4 separate regions of the Homo sapiens genome follow, and regions 2, 3 and 4 are each linked to region 1. Evidence: promoter capture Hi-C in human tissues and cell types (Jung and others, 2019). All regions are on one chromosome and are shown on one strand. Each heading gives the region's core, a stretch centred on a gene start or on the middle of the fragment in contact. The rest is flanking DNA. Distances are from core to core; before and after follow the strand shown.

Region 1 (2,700 bases), core at 103-2,602:
AATGAACACCACTGTGGCCCTGGGACAAGGAGCTGTGGTCCGTCTGGGATCAACTAGGTGGCGAAGGGGAGGGAGAAAGGAAGAGAGAGGGCTTGCGCGCGGGAGAGAGGAAGGGACGGGAGGGAGAGGGAATGGAAGACAGGAAGGGTGTCCCTTCTCAGAGGTCGCACTTTGTCAGCAGTTCCTCTCGACTGCTCTGCCTTCCATTTTTCCTTTCCTCAGTTCCTGGACAAGCCTCGGAGGACCAGGCAGAACCCTCTGGCTAGCAGAAAAGCTCGCACCCCCGCACCCTTGCGGCGTCTGCTTCAGACCCTCCACGCAGGCGCCCGCTGGAGCGCCTGCTGGGGATGGCGTACCACCGACCCTTCAGGCTTTTTAAAAACGTAAGAATTTCTACTTTATTATCTCTATGAAAAAAAAAATGTAAAGAAGAGAGGTTAGATTTTATAGAAGCTCCAAAGTCTGCCATTTGCGAGGAGGGTTCACTTCCCACCCACCCAGCCCACGGAAGCTCTTAGGAGCAGCCTGAACGGCCCCGACTCAGCCTCACGCTCTCTGACTTCCCCGCTCGCCCCTGACCCCGACTTCACTTAGGGCGGTCGCGTAGATATGAACTCTACAGCAGCCACTCTGCTCAGCGCATGTGGGGATCTTACAATCTCGACCCCGACCTCCAGAAGACCAGACGTTCTGTCTTGGGGCCTCCCTCCCGGCCCTTTAGCCTCACCCAGTGCCCGGTCCTGACACACCCCAGCACTACCAGACGAGGAAGGGCAGACTCTCCACACCAGGCTCAGCCGCTTTCCTTCTTCTCACAGCTCTCCAAGAGCTCGGTCATGAAGGAGATATAGACGATGGCCAGGCGGAGGGTCTCGATCCGGGACAGCCTTTTCTCGTAAGCAAACGTGGGCACCTTCCTCCGCAGCTGGTCAAAGGCCTCGTTGAGGTTGAACATCCGCTTCCTTTCGCGGATGTTGGCGGCCTGGCGCTGGGCGTAGGTGATCACCCTTTTCCTCTTGGGGCGGCCTAATAGGGAGACACCTCTTCCGCGCTCCTCTTCCTCCTCCTCTTCTCCGTCCCCCTGGTCCACTTCGCACTCCTCTTCTTCTGGGTCCCCCTCTTCAAACCGCGCCATCCTCCTGGGTCTTCCCTCTCGGAGCGCAAGGGCTGGGTCCCCCAAGGAGACCCCGGGTGCGAAGTCGCAGAGGAGAGGGCGTCTCGGGGAGGCCAGGGACAGGTCTGCGACGAAGTCCAGCACCGTAGTGTCCACGCAGCTCTCCGGATAGGCCGCCATCGCTTCGGCTTGGCCCTGCCTCTCATCGGTTTTCCGCAGGGAGGGGCGAGGTTGCTGGTGGGGATTCTTAACAGCCTTGAATCTGATGGGGCACCATCACCGAAAGGCCAGGGAACATTAAATATTTATAACCAAGCTGATAACAGGATTAGTCGCACCGATAAGGAATGCTCTGACAACGTCCCTTCTCTCGAAGCTTATGGAAGATGACAAGCTTGAGCACGCATGGAAGACTCAAAGGGACAGGGCTCCAGTTCTGAGATCCTTTTCTCTGCGCCACCCGGGACAGTTCCTTGTTGGCAACAACCCCCAGCTCTTACCTGCTGTGCTTTTTGTGTCTGTCTTCACCCCTGCAGCCAACTAATGTTCTCCAGGCTCCTTATCTCGTGTAGTTCTTTAATTTCGTGTTGGATTTTCAAAGCGAGGATGTTTTCCACCGCGATGGCTTCTCCTTGACTTCAGGGTAGGAGTCTTGAATCTTGCCACCATCTGCCAATGGATGTGGAGCAAGTGCATGTGCTTTTAATGATGTCCTGAAGAGGGGCCCTGCCTGCCTGGCATCAAGGGGAGCTGTTTGTCTGGTATCCCAGTGCAGCGGCTGCTGAAAGGCAAGACCTTCAATTAGCTTAAGTAAGCATGGCAGGGGGACCGAGAGTGCATTCCCCAGAGTCGCTGTTGGAACCGGCTTTCTTTTCTTTCCAGGGCATCGCAAACAGCTCTCCTGCCACGTTACAAACCCTGACTTCTAAAGTCTGTTTGGATGCAATCAGCGTAACAATTGAGATACTTGACTTTCCTTTCCCTACCTTTACCTCCTACTCATATAAAATAGAGGATTTTATTCCAAGAGGAAAAGTTATGATGGCAATAAAATGAGAAATTTAAGCTCAGGATATTTTCTATGCTCGGGCTTTGCTGTATACTTTTCAGTGTGGGGGACAAAGCAAACTCTCCTCACAAACAAAACCACTTCAAGCTCTTTTCAGAAATGCGATTTGCCCTTGATAAGCCAAAGAGTCAATCAGCTCACCCTCTGCTGAGGAGTCTTCGGACTTTTAAATTGCGGATCGAGTATTTGTTCCCGAACAAAGAAAAAAACCTAACACTTCCATCTGGCGTATTTTCCTCATTGATTTGTATTGTCCTACAGTAAGACTTAAGTGCAGAAACAATGATTTATTGAAATATATTTAAGGGAGTTTTTGGCTATCGTTAGATCGTTATTTTTGAGAAAAGAAAGAGATTTTAAATTTGGCATAAGAAAAATAAGAGATTACTCATTTTATATTATCTCGAGTATCCCAAATATTTTAACAAAAAGGTTCTTTTTCTTTGTTTGCCAATAACTATATTTACTTAATTATTCAGTACTGTGTAAAGATTTATTTAAAAGACCCATTGTGTCA
Region 2 (2,700 bases), core at 55-2,554, 160 kb after region 1:
AATTTAAATAGAGATTTAAATTATTCACTTCTCAGAAGTTGCTCTTTTAGAAAATGCTTTCTGAAAATCACGATATAATGTGGCTCACCTAGAAAAAAATCAGGATTTACAAAACTGTCAGAAGCCTACATCAATTTTTTGATTAAATGCATATAACATAAAAATTAAAGAAACTTATCACTATACAGTGACCAAAATACTACAGTACTATACAATCATTTTCATATTAGATTTCATATAGGTTGGTACAAAAGTAATAGCCGTTTTGACCATTACTTTTTTTTTTTTTTTAAGACGGAGTTTGGCTCTGTTGACCAGGCTAGAGTGCAGTGGCATGATCTCTGCTCACTGCAGCCTCCGCCTCCCGGGTTCAAGCAATTCTCCTGCCTCAGCCTCTGAGTAGCTGGGACTACGGGCGCCCGCCACCACGCCCGGCTAATTTTTGTATTTTTAGTAGAGACGGGGTTTCACCATGTGAGTCAGGGTGGTCTCAGTCTCCTGACCTCATGATCCACTGGCCTCCAGAAGTGCTGGGGTTACAGGCATGAGCCACTGTGCCCGGCCTGGCCATTACTTTTAATGGTAAAGACAGCAATTACTTTTGCATCACCTAATAAATATGCTAGTTAACAGTGGTGAGAGAAATAATATAAGTTGTTTTATGAAATCCCATAGTATGGTGCCATATCTTTTCCCAAGCATATTTTTATTTATGCCTGGGTAAATTCCTATTACTTATTGCTGTCCTTTTTTTTCATGTATTAACCTTGCTTCTCATATTCTCATGTTCCCTTACACTCTTACTCTTAGTTATATTTTATGTTTTTGGAAATTCACTTTGTAACCAGATTTGTGTATGTAACTACACATTTAATGTCATGCATATTTAATACTATGCACTCCTAATAACATCTACCATATAAAGAACATGCATTTTAAGAAGTATGTTGGCAATAGCCACAAAGCTTTTATTTTGTGTGTGTGTGTGTGTGTGTGTGTGTGTGTGTGTGTGTGTGCGTAGGGGGTCCTGATCTGTAAATGTGTTCTCAAATACAATAATCTTAATATTGTTGGATTTTTTTTAAAGGGATACAATGTGAATAGGTAATACTTATTGAGCACTGGGCTAAGCCATACACACACACACACACACACACACACACACACATACACACACACACAGAATGTCATTTTTGCTCATATAATAACCTTATAAAGATGGAAACTATTTTTATCCTCATTTTAATATTAAAAAAGAGGTTTGAAAGCAAGTAACTAGAATGAAGGTACATTGTAAATGGTGGGACTGTAATTGAAAATCTTGAGCTCCACATGTTTGTAAAACAGAATTCTCAGAAAACAAGATAATTTTCATGTATACTGGCATTAGCTATAGTGCTTATGGCCTACAATTTTGGTTAGTTCTGCCACTGAGAGATTAATTTTCTGCCATTGGATATTCCTCAATACCAGTTGTCTGTCATATTTCCCAATTTGCTGAAGGCTAACAATGAGGGTGTGTGTGTGTGTGTGTGTGTGTGTGTGTGTGTGTGCAGGACAGGTAAGGGAGAAAGGATTTCATTGAGAGTGAGTTCTTCACCAGACTGAAGGATGCTGAATACTGCTGAGTATGATCTCCTTGCCCTGGTAATAATTCCTTTAGGGTTCTAGGGAAGAAGTATATGGCACCAGAAACAAGCCTTTGGGTTTAGATCATTGTTCAGTTTGATAACTTGGGAGTTGGGACTTCTGACTGTGATTAACTGGTTGGTGCACACTGAAGTCTATCTTTAGCATGCTTCAGCATCTCTCTGATGGCATTAGTGGATGGGGAATTTACATTTTTGTTTTCAAAAGAGAATAACCAAATGCCTAGAATTAGTACTAGCATAGCAAAATTTTAGTGGTGAGTACCTGTAAATATTTTCTTGAAAAATCAATTATTTCATAACAGTGGTAGCAAAATTAATTTGTCAAATATTTATGACAAAGTCTGTGCCAATTCCTGCCTCATTTTTACCTTGATCAGGAACCTCCAATGCTGCTAATGCTCTGTTTTCACTGAAGGAAACACCTGTTGCCTAAAATATTAATAACTCAGGTCAATTTTAAGACTGTGAAACCTCGGAGTCTATTCCATGGTTATTTTTATTTGTTTAACTATTACAAATAGGCACTTCATCTTTGAAATGAGAACAAGTTGTATAACTTTATTAATGAAAACTAGAAGTCTGAACTATTCTACTACTTGGCTATGTAAGTGGTTTGTGATAACCAATACATCTTCCTTTCATGAAATGTTCTAGAGATACATTTTCCTGACGTCCTTAGTCAGTTGATAGCTTATCTCTGCAGGAGCCATGATTTAGTTTTGCAGATCTAGTAGAAGGAAGAATTTCCAATATATTTTTTTAAAAACTAAAATTTGATTTCCATCTGGGCAATATGGATTCTCCATTCACAAGGCTGTAAAATATCTATGAATAAAAATTTTCTAGCATGAGATCTCTATTGAGGAGGAGTCTGGGATAAAGACTATTGGATCAGAAGTCAACAGCTTTAAATTCTTGTTCTTGTGTAATGTCGAACCACCCTGACACCTTGGTTACATCGCTTAATTTCCCCGACGCCATTCTTTTCATTTGTTAAACAAAAACTTCAGTTTCTGGGGACTCTCCTTACTCCAACTCAATTAATGAC
Region 3 (2,700 bases), core at 140-2,639, 140 kb after region 1:
TTCATCTTTTAGTAACCAGTATACACAATCTGTAATTTTACAATTGTGTGATCATTTGATACTAGGATGAGGGAGAACCCAAATACTAAAAGGTTGACCTGAAATGGTACATGGAGATATATAGAATATAGATGTGACCTGCTAATACATAGCCCCCAAATAAGCAATGAAAGTCTTCATGGTCATCTGAATTTTCCCTAATAGTAATGAGAGAAGCTATTTGAGCTATTTGGTACTTTCAAAATGTATTCTTTGAAGGCAACAGGATGTGTCTAGAACTAGGCTTCCATAGTAATCATAGGCTTTTGGGCCTAATGATTCAAAGACTGTGTAAACCAGCATAGATAATTTCTAGGAAATGATTTAGAATTCGTGTCAGAAAATATGATTGAAGAGGTTGGACACATTTGGATTCCTATTAGTCATTTGATGATTTTGTCTTTGTGTTTTTTTTTGTGCTGTAACAAAGCACCATCACTGCATTGTTGAGATGATCAAAAGAGTTTACTAGAGATAACATGCTTTGAAAAAATAAGCATAAAATTAGCATTTCACATTTAAAATAATATTCAACTTCTCATAAATCATTACAAGTCACTTTTTGTGGCTATAAACCCATTAATATGTTGAAGAAAAGCAAAACTATCCTTTCTTACCTTCCAATGTTTTAATAATTAGTGATGTACTATGGTTGGGAATAGAAACAAATATATGAATGTAAATAAGGATGTGTATAGATATGGCCTGTTCAGTTTGTAAAACTGATCGTGTAGAAAATCTAGAATAATGAAGCTTAAAATTCTGTAGCTAACACTATAAAATGTAACCATGCAATCTAGTTTGTTTTGCGTCCTAAAGAAGGAATAGTTACCTTCTTTCTTTTCTAAGGTTTGATCCTCCTGCCTGGACAAAAGATACTTATGCCATATAATTGACCATTTGTTTTACATTTAAGTGGACAGATATTTTCTTTTATTTTCTCTTTATAACCAGGATCACAGACATTATGGAAAGCCTCTTTGAAGTTTTATGCTAAGTACTTTCTGCTAAAGCTTTCATTTTCCTCTGCTTTGCTCACTACCTTTCCATTATGATAAATCACTAAAATCACAAAGCTTATCCTTACAGCAAGCCTATCACTCCTTTCTTTCCTTGTTTAAATTTTCATTTCTTCTATAAAGTTTTGATGACTTAGATAACTTAGACTACACATGGCACTTCTAAGAGTAATGTTATACATACAGTAGTTTTTCATCCATTAAACATGGATTTCCCCTTCTAAAGCATGTCACATGATAATCACATGGTAATTGTAAAATATATGTTAAATACTACTGAAATGAAAGTAAAAAGAATCAGACCATTTTAAATCTATCACCTTTCTACTTTGTCACAGCATCCATCAGTTTTCTTACTTACCATAAGAAAATGTGAATTGAATTTGCTTTCTAAAAGTGCATGTGTTCTTTCCACTGTTATTTAATGGAAATTTTGCATAACTTTTTGTTTCTTATAGAAAATATAATCAATAATCAGTGAATGAATAGTGTACATGTCTCAAAAAGAAGGTCTATAAATCTTTATTATAAAATTCTGAAAAGAAGTAAGAAGTCGGAACTTACTATTTTAGTTTCATATTAGACAATTGCAAAATCATTATAAAGTGAACCAAATTTATTACTTCATTTAAAATAAAATTACATATTGCCCCCTTATAAACTGTTGAACAATAAGGCTTTAAAAAGTAATGTAACTATCTAACTGCTATTATTACAATTACTTTTCATTTTCTGAGAAATTTGTCTATAATTATAGTTTATAAAGTATTGAATTCTGTGGTAGAAAATGAAAAAAACACATTTTATCTTCTGAGTATAAATAATACATTATATTAAACTGATATAAAGAAACATTTCACAAATTTTTTAAGAATTTTCTTTGAACTAGATTAAAGAGACAGTTATTTCTGAATTGCAGTCTCTCAAGTTGCTAAGTCAATTTTCCAAGGTATAAATGTGATACAAAGAGGAGCCTCCTGCCTCTGTAGGCTCTTTGTTGGCAGAAACAATATTTTATTTATCTCTGTGTCCTCAGCATCCAGTATCCTGAAATATGGTGGTTGCTCAGTAAATTCCTCATGACTGAGTGCCTGTATATCTTCAGGGTATCCAGGAGAATACTCAATTGTGGTTATTCTTTCCAGTGCAGTTGCTTTTTCCTTAGGGAAGATATCTATTTTGTGGAGCCTACATCACAAAATAGATACATGTGAATATTAGAGTAGATATATTTGGTTATGTTCAGACCTGTAGTGGTTTATCCGTTCTATCATATTTTTCTAATTGTTTTCAGATCAAAACGAATGTAGTAAAAAGGTACATGGACCTATAAAACATCACTTTTTAGAAAAGTAAGATTATTATTAATCTAATAAAATGATGAGTTCAGTAGTTTTGTCAATTAGAACGAAATAAATCTGATGCCCAATATGATTTCCCAACTCCCCAGATAATTAGATTAATCCCACATCTTGATTCATGATATGCTATCATTGTTCACCCATGAATGGCCATATTTTAAAAAACGTAATTAACTAGCCATAGAATGAACATTAGTGAACTTACCACCTGGACAAAGAACTAGATGAACGGTAACTAATATTTGCCTGGTTTTGCTCCTCTATTGTACCTCTCACAGAAT
Region 4 (2,700 bases), core at 176-2,675, 230 kb after region 1:
AGTCAGGGACCAGGAATCTACTTCTTTTTTGGTTATCCTAGCTGAGCTATCTTTTTCAATTGGAAGTCACTTACTCTAGCCTTTAACTTGCTGAAGTGTGTTCCTGGCCAACAGACAAAATGGACTTCCCCACGGCTAACAGAAGTGCTTAAAGTTGAAACAGAACTATGCAGCCATAGCTGGGTGAGGGAGCCATCAGTAACTCTATGTTCTCAGAAAGATGTTGTGAAAGTATCATGAAACCTTCTTTTCTACAATCAAGCAAAACCAGTTCCTGTTGTCAGGCCTGGATCAGAAAGCCAGAACCTCACCCAGCTTCATGCCATCACATGCCCTCTTGCACACCCACCACTGCCCTTTGAAAGAAACATAAGACAGAGACTTCTGGTTTGGGGCTTTGAAACAAACCAGTCAGCTCTTACTTGCCCCAGCCAATCAAGGCTCAGCTGCACTGACCAATCAGAACTAAGGAAGATTCAATCTTTCATTTGCATAAACAGATCTGATTGGCAACCCAGGCAGGAGTTTCTTGCTATAAAACTTGAACCCTCTCCTTGTTTTCTAGAATGTGCACCTTCATTTTTACACTAGAGGCTGCATCTCCCAGGATTTGGTTCACTGAAACAAAATCTCTTTCCTTCAAATTCCTTGTCAGAGAATGTTTACAAACTCTTTTGCCACAAGTCGTCTCTATTTCTTTATCATTATTTTAATGTGATGGAAGTTATCCATCCTTCATGTGATATATATGATATATTTTGAGAAGATGAAAAGGTCCAAGGCATAATTTTCATTGACTTCCTCTTTCTGGAAGTCCTTCCTGCCACTTCTGTACGTCCATAGTTCTGCGTTTTTACTTTTCTGGTGTACTTCTCTCTTTTAGTTGTGTGGTGTAGTTATGGCTGTGCTTGTTTTATCTTCTTTCCCTGAGTGCACATTCTGATAAGATAGCAAGAGCAATGATTCATCACTTACCACCCTTTTTAGTCCTAGTCTGGTGCTCAGTGTGTTGTAGAAATTCAGTGACAATTATTGAAATAAATCTTTAACATGAAATATTATTTCAGTATAATGCAACTTTTGCTTAATGTCTCTCAATATTCAATATTGTTTGAATGCTACCCAAATCACATAACTCTAAGTTATCAGAACAGAAGGTGCATAGAGTAAACATCTCTCTGTGGGTACATGCCTTTTGTTTTTAGTGTGGATTATATTTTTTCCTCAGGATTTTGGAAAGCCCAAAGTGGCTTCTAAATATTTTAAACATAGAGACATCTCTAGCTTTCTGAATGATTACAAAAGCCATTTCTACTTAAATTAAGCCTGCTTCACGTGTTATAGTTTTATGTAATTTCTTCAGCTTTTTAATAGTCTATACAGTTTAGTAACTGCACGATGTTTAAGGTGTTTGGATGCCATTTGGAAGCTTCATAAAAGGAGGTCACTTAGAGTTCAGAAATGTTTAGAAAAGAGAAAAAAAATCTTAGGAAGGTTCTCTTTGGAGTTAGCAATTCAGAACCTCTTCTTTGTTTGCATTCAAGATACAATATGCCAAGCTAAGATTATCTGTTTTGAATCAGGAAAAAAGCAAAGTTAAAAACAGAGCAAAGTAAGTTGTGTCATATATAAGGGAATATCTCAAGTCTCTTGTGCTTGCGTTGTTTAAAAAAATTGTATTTGTAAATTTATGGTATTTTAAAGTGATGCGCTTACTGAGTTTGAAAAAGAAATTTATAAAAAGAATAACAGAAAGTTTCATTGCTCTGCCTAAAGTTATGGCTCATAATTTTGGAACATATGCTCTAAGCTGTGTCATGAAGTGGTGGGGGGGGGGGGTGCTTCTGAGTCATCCCCCTTCTTGTTTAGCCTAGAGAGAAGTAGAATTTAAGATAGCCATTTATGCATCTACACATACTTAAAATGTAGCCCGCCAGAGCAGAGGATCCATTGAGAGAAAAAGACAGGGGAGACGGAAGTGACCAATAGCTAGCTTCTGGCTGGATAAAAAATTGACACATAACTTCTGGCTTCCCCTCAAGTGGAGCTTTTGCGAGGGATTTATAGGTCAGATAGCTCAGCAGTTTGAGCTTGTTGCCCACCGTACCTTAACAAAGCTTGTGCGTGTTTGTACAGCTGGACTGGTAGCTGTGGGAGTCCCGAGAATCCCACAGCCCTCCCGTCCCTGTACCTCCCCTTCGCCATTTACCAGCACACAAATACACACAGAATGAAACTGTCTGACTAGCAGGTTAAAGGCCCACAATTCAAGCCCTGTTTATTTTCTTTCCTTGATTTCCTGCTGCTACAGTGAGTAAATGATATTTTTCCCCCTTGCTTTTTTTTTAACCTGTTTGTCTATCAATGTCTGCTAGGGAATGGAAGAAATACTAACATTTTAAAATAGTTTATGTGACACACGCTTTGGTGTACTATTTTAAACTTCTCTCCCTCTCTCCCCATCTTTCTCTGAAGCTCTCTCCACTCTCATCTTTTTCTTATATTTCGGGGAGAAGGAATTTACCCAAAGGAAGGAAAGAAAAACATCCCCGAAGTCTTCAAGTGTAACTTCACCCTGAGGAAGGGTGTTATTTTAATTACTGCTGAACCCATTCTGTAGGGAGGCCTGTAAATGCTTGATGCAGCTAGTAGAGTGGCAGTTAATATGCCTTTTGAATCAGTGCCACAAACTACAAAGAC

What was found. The method cuts DNA at HindIII sites, captures the fragments that hold promoters and counts their contacts. A contact is called where the count stands out against the background at its distance.
Region 2: a contact is called between a fragment that was not itself captured here and the fragment with the promoter of FERD3L in region 1, in 1 of the 25 tissues and cell types used here (neural progenitor cells).
Region 3: a fragment that was not itself captured here is called in contact with the fragment with the promoter of FERD3L in region 1 in 3 of the 25 tissues and cell types used here (H1 embryonic stem cells, mesenchymal stem cells and mesendoderm cells).
Region 4: a contact is called between a fragment that was not itself captured here and the fragment with the promoter of FERD3L in region 1, in 4 of the 25 tissues and cell types used here (H1 embryonic stem cells, IMR-90 fibroblasts, bladder and 1 more).

What each region holds. Positions count from the first base shown.
Region 1 is chr7:19,144,069-19,146,768 of GRCh38, forward strand. FERD3L (Fer3 like bHLH transcription factor) reads right to left here and starts at 1,353. Exons shown (of 1, transcript NM_152898.2): 1 at 714-1,353. The coding sequence starts at 1,294. The coding sequence ends at 794. RefSeq lists enhancers at 86-1,285, 1,751-2,399. The HindIII fragment of the contact is 11,409 bases long and covers 1-2,700 here.
Region 2 is chr7:19,308,053-19,310,752 of GRCh38, forward strand. All of the region lies in intron 2 of LOC107986773 (a long non-coding RNA gene), which reads left to right. Among named protein-coding and RNA genes, the nearest start is that of FERD3L, 160 kb to the left of the region's middle. The HindIII fragment of the contact is 3,682 bases long and covers 1-2,700 here.
Region 3 is chr7:19,288,138-19,290,837 of GRCh38, forward strand. No RefSeq gene overlaps it. Among named protein-coding and RNA genes, the nearest start is that of FERD3L, 140 kb to the left of the region's middle. The HindIII fragment of the contact is 4,755 bases long and covers 1-2,700 here.
Region 4 is chr7:19,375,860-19,378,559 of GRCh38, forward strand. No RefSeq gene overlaps it. Among named protein-coding and RNA genes, the nearest start is that of FERD3L, 230 kb to the left of the region's middle. The HindIII fragment of the contact is 3,576 bases long and covers 1-2,700 here.